Linked DNA regions of Homo sapiens: all the other regions are linked to region 1. The links are contacts of gene promoters, found by promoter capture Hi-C in human tissues and cell types (Jung and others, 2019). All regions are on one chromosome and are shown on one strand. Each heading gives the region's core, a stretch centred on a gene start or on the middle of the fragment in contact. The rest is flanking DNA. Distances are from core to core; before and after follow the strand shown.

Region 1 (2,587 bases), core at 62-2,561:
AGATCGAGACCATCCTGGCCAACATGGTGAAACCCTGTCTCTACTAAAAATACAAAAATTTGCCAGGTGTGGTGGCGTGCACCTGTAGTCCCAGCTACTCAGGAGGCTGAGGCAGGAGAATTGCTTGAACCTGGGAGGCAGAGGTTGTAGTGAGCTGAGATCCTGCCACTGCACTCCAGCCTGGGCGACAGAGTGAGTCTCCATCTCAGAAAAAAAAAATGTGTTTGAGCCTAGTTATAATGATTTAAAATTCATGGTCCGACACCGCAATTACTTTTGCACCAACCTAATTGATGTCTAAGTAGGTCATATTCTACCTGCAAAAAGAAAATTTCATCTATCCCTTTCACATAGATGGAAACCCACTATCTCCAGTGGACAGTTAACACCAAAGGCATCACAGAGAACTCATGGAGCTCAGCTGAGGAGGTTTCAGGGATTTTTCTATTTCCTTTTCTTGATTATGAGAGTCTGGGACTAGATGCTCTCCAGACCTGTGCCTAAAGACTCTTCAACCCTTTGAGATGGAGATGAGGGAGGGAATAGGGAACCCAGTTTAGTTTGGATTTCAGATCCTTTTGTGGGTCATAAGCGTGATGATTGGGTTTCCATGTTCACGTGTGAGATATGCCTCCCTCAAACCTTGTTACAATGACATGGGCACCTTACCTATCTGACATGAGAAAAACAAATGTGGATTTCAGATAAACAAAAAATAACTCTTTTAGTGTATATGTCCCATAGAATATGTGGACATATTTATCCTAAAAATATTGTATGGGACATAGTTGTATTAAGAAACTGTTCATTGTTTATCTGAAGTTCAAATTTAACTGGGCATCCTCCTCAGCTGAGCTCCATGAGTTCTCTGTGATGCCTTTGGTGTTAACTGTCCACTGGAGATAGTGGGTTTCCATCTATGTGAAAGGGATAGATGAAATTTTCTTTTTGCAGGTAGAATATGACCTACTTAGACATCAATTAGGTTGGTGCAAAAGTAATTGTGGTGTCGGACCATGAATTTTAAATCATTATAACTAGGCTCATGTCATATTTTATGTGACATGGCAATCCTATGGAGGAGGGACCAACATTTAAAATAAATGGCTTCCCTAGGATAGAGCACTGGGACTGGGGAAAACAGAGGCCACAGTCAGCTGTGACTTTTTGAAGGAAGGAATAAAGTTGGTTTCTTTCATGCCAATTTAGCAATTACAGACGACCCCGTCAGAAATCTAAACCCGTGACTATCATGGGACTCAAAACCAGGAAAAAAAATAAGTCAAAACGATTAAGAGCCAGAGAAGCAGTCTTCATACACGCGGCCAGCCAGCAGACAGAGGACTCTCATTAAGGAAGGTAAGAGCGTTGCCTTCTCGCCATAATCATAGTCCTCTTCTCCCAGAATAGGATTTGGGAAATTCTGGCTAAGTCCTCTGCCTACCCTCATTGCCCCGCTGATGTGTGACATCAACAGAATTTCTCCGCAACGTTTGTCAGTCTCCAACCTCAGAGGGCTCACAAAGCCTCCTCCTGAATCCTCTCTCAGTCCTCCAACACTACCAAGAAGAAAAGCAATTATTCAGGATGGCATCTTGCTGGGGAGAAGCAGCCTCCCTGAGGTAGATGTGTTCTCCTGTCACTTAAAGAACCACTTCTCCTGGTCTGAGTAGTAAGAGGCGCATTTGCTGTTGCTGCACCATTTGCCAAGGCTCTGAGTTTGAGGTATGGGATGTATTAAAACAATTTAATGAAGAATTAAGATTCCATTCTGTCATTTTGAACACAGGGTTCAGTCCTATATTATTCACTTGAGAGGACTGGTGAGTTTGACTTTCATTTCTTTTTTACAACTGGGAAGGGCAAATTACACATAAAATGTCCCAGTGGAAAGGGGTCATGTGTCGAAATCCCCACTCTTCTGTCTCACCTCTCCCTGTTGTTTTAAACTGGGGCTCATTAATATAATTCTATGGGGATCACACCTTTGAAATTCATGAGGACAGTAAGAGAGCAGAAAAATACACAATAATAAGGAAAGGAGCTTCCATTATTGGTTTTTAATGAGCGTACTTGAATTACGGCCACTGCAGTTTATGGATATTTTTTGTTGTTCATTTGTATGTGTTATAGTTAGAAAAAAAAAGAATCCTAGCCAAGGGACTTGAACCAGAGAGAAGCAGAAATTGACTTAAGTAGGAAGGGAAACACATTGTTAGATAAAGTCAGGTCCTGGGCTTCCTCGGCTTGTTTTGGGTGGAGTGCCTGGGGACAGGCTGAAGCCCCTGTGTGGGGTGGTTTCCTTTGCTGAAAAGCTGGGCTGGAAGATGTTGTGCTCAGTGCTCAACCTCATGCACCCTCGCGAGGCACAGGCAACGGGTGCTCTGGGAAACACACGTTATGTATCATAGCCTCTGTTTGTCTGTGGGATTGATATCCAACAATAACTTTGGAGAAAAATAACTCCTCTAATTTTGTTAGCCACAGCCCTGGGCCAGGGAAGGTGGAGAATCAGTGAAAATGCATTTTGTTTGTTTCTCTAGAAGTTTATGGTGCAGAGTCAAATTGAAGGCAAATGAGGAATATT
Region 2 (2,587 bases), core at 33-2,532, 770 kb after region 1:
TCATAGCCCAAGACAGAGGGCTGTGAAAACACCAGTATTTAATTGGAACATTATAGAACACACCCTGTTTCCAAAACTTAACTACAGCACCAGCAGGGCTTTCATAGTAACAACTGAAGGTGCTGCAATACACAGACTGCCCCTGAGGAAGAGTACCGTAGACCCCCTTATTTGTGGTTTCGCTTTTCATGGTTTCAGTTACCTGCAGTTAACCACCTTCTGAAACCATAAATGGAAAATTCCAGAAATAAACAGTTCATAAGTTGTTGGGTTTTTTTTTGTTTTTTTGTTTTTTGACACAGTTTCACTCTTGTTGCCCAGGCTGTAGTACAGTGGCGCGATCTCAGCTCACCACAACCTCCGCCTCCCGGAGTCAAGCGATTCTCCTGCCTCAGCCTTCTGAGTAGCTGGGATTACAGGCATGCACCACCATGCCCGGCTAATTTTGTATTTTTAGTAGAAACAGGGCTTCTCCATGTTGGTCAGGCTGGTCTCGAACTCCTGACCTCAGGTGATCCACCCGACTCAGCCTCCCAAAGTGCTGGGATTACAGGCATGAGCCACCGTGCCCAGCCAACAGTTCATAAGTTTTAAGCTACATGCTGTTCCAAGGAGCATGACAAAATCTCACACTGTCCTGCCCCATCGCGCCTGGGATGTGATTCATCCCTTCGTCCAGTGTATCCATGCTGTTTATGCTGTGCACCCTCAGTCACTTCGTAGCTTTCTCAGTTGTCCCATTCTCAGATTGACCATCAGGATATTGCAGTGTTGTGTTTTACTTAATAATGGCCCAAAATTTCAGAATAGTGATGCTGGCAATTTGGATATGCCACAGAGAAGCTGTAAAGCACTTCCTTTAAGTGAAAAGGTGAAAGTTCTTGACTTAATAATATGTACACCATGGAATATTATGCAGCCATAAAAAAGAATGAGTTCATGTCCTTGCAGAGACATGGATGAAAAAGGCGAAAACTAGTCAGGTGTGGTGGCATGTGCCTGTGGTCCCTGAAACTGGAGAGGCTGAGGTGGGAGGATTGCTTGAGCCACAATCACACTACTGCACTTTAGCCTAGTGATGGAGCAAGACGGAGGCTGGTCTTGAACTCCTGGGCTCAAGCAGTCTGCCCACCTGGGCCTCCTAAAGTGGCTGGGATTACAGGCATGTGCCACCACGCCCAGCTAATTTTGTATTTTTAGTAGAGACGGGGTTTCTCCATGTTAGTCAGGCTGGTCTCGAACTCCCAACCTCAGGTGATCCGCCAGCCTCGGCCTCCTTTAAGTGCTGGGATTACAGGTGTGAGCCACTGCATCCGGCCTTATTTTTGTATTTTTAGTAGAGACAGGGTTTCAGCATGTTGGCCAGGCTGGTCTCAAACTCCTGACCTCAAGTGATCTGCCTGCTTCAGCCTCCCAGAGTGTTGGGATTACAGGCGTGAGCCACCGCACCCAGCCAGAAGTGAAGTTTCTATATGAATGTCAATGTTATTGCACTAGGTTTAATGCCATGCTGTGACCTCTCAGATTCTTTTACTAAAGATGAGATATGACATATGCAGATTCTGGATTCCTAATAAAACAGCCAAGCAGGACTAGCTCCCAGGTGATACTTTCTTTCCCAAGAGAAGCAGAATTATAAAGGATTTAGATGCAAGGTTGGTACCTTAATATTCTTTCCTGGCTGGCTAAGTGTGAAGTGGGGAAGGAGGGAATGGAGGGATACAGGGGCCCTGTCCAAAAATATCACTTCCCACTATAAGCTAATTAAAGATACATTTGTGTTAACTAGTTTCTCCTTTGAAAGCAATTACTGCCATGCCAAGCCTCATTAACAACTCAGTATGACTTCCTTTAAAGAGAAAATCCACTCAGCTCTTAACTGGCCCTGTGAGTGTCCAGCTAGAGTCCTTGGATTTATCGAAGAGCAAATTTATGAAGTAGATACTTCTTCGTTTATTACAATTAAAGAGGAAAGGCAGATTCGAAAAGATAACTGTGGTCACAGGTGGTAGAGAAAATGCACTAGAGGAGGACCTGCCTTCAAGTATCTCATTGACCAGCACAGGATTGTGAAAGGACAGAAAGCCAAAGACTGATTCAAAGCCCAGAGGCCACTAATTTACTGTTAAGGACACACGGGCAATGTGCATAGAGCATTTGCTTCCACACCTGGCTATTACTTTGTGTGTTTGTGTGTGTGTGTATCAGGATTTTAATGTACAGCTGGCCGGTGACTCAACACAACCCCATGGCTCTGAACTGTCTCATTCAAATTGTAAGTTTCACGCATAAATAATAGGTACTGCTCTTTCTATAGATCCAATAGAAAATACTCTTTTTTTGGTTCTAGCTCTTTTCCTTGAAACTTTATTTATATTTAAATTTTTTACCCCCAGGCCTGGTGGCTCATGTCTGTGATCCCAGCACTTTGGGAGGCCAAGGCGGGCAGATTACCTGAGGCTTGGAGTTCGAGACCAGCCTGACCAACATGGTGAAACCCCCGTCTCTACTAAAAATACAAAAACTAGCCGGGCATGGTGGTGGGCATCTGTAATCCAAACTACTCAGGAGGCTGAGGCAGAAGAAT
Region 3 (2,587 bases), core at 43-2,542, 550 kb after region 1:
AGTAAGACTATCCAATGGATAGGACCTACCCTTCAGTTTGGTGTATCTTAGAGCACAAAACACAGTACCTTAGCATATATTTGGCAACTTTTTTTGTCAGTTAGAATGAATGTTAAGTAAAGGGGAATCTAAATCCAACATGTGTGAAAAGACTAAAATTACCTGCCCTAAATAATTTTACGTGATGGAATTAAATGTTTCAATGCTGGCAACTTAAAGATACGATAGCTGAACTTTCTTTGAAAAATGAAAGATAACAGAAGCTTAGTAACAGGTAAATGTCACCTCTTTAAAAAGAGGAAAGGACTATATAAAATATGAGATGTATAACATAAATAAGCTCCTGGATAAAAGAATCATTATGAGCCCGATATGGTTGTGATACAAAGCATGTTAAAGTTTCATTCTTTGTGATCATTAGAAAAATGAATTATAAAATATAATGAAGTACATGTTGATTTCAGTAAGTCATCAAACAAGTTCTTCTTTGAATGGAGGATGCATTGAAGAAAGCTGGTATAGCCTAACAGTAGTAATAAGCAGATTTTTTATTTTATTATTATTATTTTTTAGACAGAGTCTCGTTCTGTTGCTCAGTCTGGAGTGCAGTGGCACGATCTCGGCTCGCTGCAACCTCTGCCTTGCAGGTTCAAGCGATTCTCCTGCCTCAGCCTCATGAGTACCTGGGATGACAGGTGCCTGCCACCACGCCTGGCTAACTTTTGTATCTTTAGTAGATACGGGGTTTCACCGTGTTGGTCAGGCTGGTCTTGAACTCTGGACCTCAGGTGATCCACCTACCTCAACCTCCCAAAGTGCTGGGATTACAGGTATGAGTCACTGCACCTGGCCAGATTTTTTTATTGAGTAGTAAGCTCCAAGTGAGTCGATAGAATGTGGTTGTCATATAGTTATGCTGTAAATCTGTTTTGCTTTATTTTATTTATTTATTTTTGAGACAGAGTCTTGCACTGTGGCCCAGGCTGGAGTGCAGTGGTGCGATCTCAGGTCACTGCAACCTCCACTTCCTGGTTTCAAGTAATTCTCGTGCCTCAGCCTCCCAAGAAGCTAGGATTATAGGCATGCACCACCACACCTGGCTAATGTTTGTATTTTTAGTTGAGACTGGGTTTCACCACGTTGGCCAAGGTGGTCTTGAATTCCTGATCTCAAACACCCACCTTAGCCTCCCAGAGTGCGAGATTACAGGTGTGAGCCACCGCACCCGGCTAGTTTCATTAGAAGTAAGATACCTAGTACAAACCAGATGATGCTGCTGTTGTACTGGACTGGCTATTCCCTACTAGGAATATTGTCCTCCAGCTCTCATGCCTTAAAAACAATACCATCAGGACCTGGTGCATGTTCAGAGTAGGACTCAAAATGTAAAACTACAGTGAAGAGTAGCCAAAAAAACTAAATACTTAGCTTGAAAGACCTGGATTATGATTGTTCCCATATTGTAAAAGCTCTTAGAAGAGATTTCTGTATAACACAGAAGGGAAGTTTCAGGATAACCTAAACTTCCTACCAGTCAAATATCTCTGAAGATGGAGAATGGTCTGCCTTGAGAAGTAGCCAGTAAACTAGCATTGGCCATTTTCAACCATAGATGGGAAGACTTATTGGAGATGATGCACTGCAAAGAGAATCTATGAAGTTAGTAATTGTATTAGATGACCTGTAATGACAGCATGTCATTTTTACCTCTAAGCCAGTGTCTCTCAAAGTCACATTTTTGTACTTTAACTAAATAGGCTTTAAGTGCTTATAGGTTACCATCCCATTGCATTTATGGCTTTATGGTATTTCTCTCAAAGAACTACTTTTTCATTTTTCTCCTAGAGTGATAAGCATTATTTGGCAAACCTGTGCACAATTGTGTCTGCAAACCTCTTGAGTGTAGCAGTGTAGTTTGAACAAGCTGTCATTTAGCAAAAGCAGGGAGATGTATTGTACATGAGATGAAAGAAACCTGCCTCTGGAATTATTCTGGGGTATGCAATGTTTGTCAGTTAAAATGGAGCTGTTTAAAAGCTGTTTTTTATAGTAATCTACGTATCTAATAGATTACTAGACCAGATTATCAGTCTTTGAAATGAAGCTTCATTAAAACAGAATTCGTTGCTGAATTAGGCCAAGATAAATAGCTATTCTCTTGCATTTTCAACTTCTACTCCAGTCAGAGCAGAGTTAAAAACAATCTTTAGTCTATGAGGAATGATAGCCATTATAGATTTATGATGTTTCTTCTTAGGTAGAGGAGTTTCAAACACCAAACCAAAAAAATTTAAGATATAGTAGAAGATGTAATTCTAAAATATAACTGAAATAATTTGTTTCCTAATTTATCTCCACTATTCCTTCAAAAATTACAGATACAAACACTAAGTTTATGAAAAACAGGTTATGTTAAGAGATTTGAAATGTTTTAAAATTTGAGTTTTACTAGTTGCTTGTAAATGGTCCTTTTCTATAGATTTCTTGGTGAACATAGGCTGAATTGTTTTTTGTTTGTTTCTTTGAGACAGCCCTGCTCTATGGCTTGGGCTGGAGTGCCGTGGTGTGATCTTGACTCACTGCAACT

What was found. The method cuts DNA at HindIII sites, captures the fragments that hold promoters and counts their contacts. A contact is called where the count stands out against the background at its distance.
Region 2: a contact is called between a fragment that was not itself captured here and the fragment with the promoter of MLANA in region 1, in 1 of the 25 tissues and cell types used here (heart left ventricle).
Region 3: a fragment that was not itself captured here is called in contact with the fragment with the promoter of MLANA in region 1 in 2 of the 25 tissues and cell types used here (dorsolateral prefrontal cortex and spleen).

What each region holds. Positions count from the first base shown.
Region 1 is chr9:5,889,578-5,892,164 of GRCh38, forward strand. It overlaps MLANA (melan-A), which reads left to right and starts at 1,312. Exons shown (of 5, transcript NM_005511.2): 1 at 1,312-1,359. It overlaps LOC124902341 (small nucleolar RNA U13), which reads left to right and starts at 573; the gene lies at 573-679. It also overlaps a transcript of BRD10 not described here. The HindIII fragment of the contact is 14,558 bases long and covers 1-2,587 here.
Region 2 is chr9:6,655,013-6,657,599 of GRCh38, forward strand. No RefSeq gene overlaps it. Among named protein-coding and RNA genes, the nearest start is that of GLDC, 11 kb to the left of the region's middle. RefSeq lists enhancers at 1,564-2,070, 2,005-2,104. The HindIII fragment of the contact is 4,863 bases long and covers 1-2,587 here.
Region 3 is chr9:6,436,681-6,439,267 of GRCh38, forward strand. All of the region lies in intron 3 of UHRF2 (ubiquitin like with PHD and ring finger domains 2), which reads left to right. Among named protein-coding and RNA genes, the nearest start is that of UHRF2, 25 kb to the left of the region's middle. The HindIII fragment of the contact is 5,119 bases long and covers 1-2,587 here.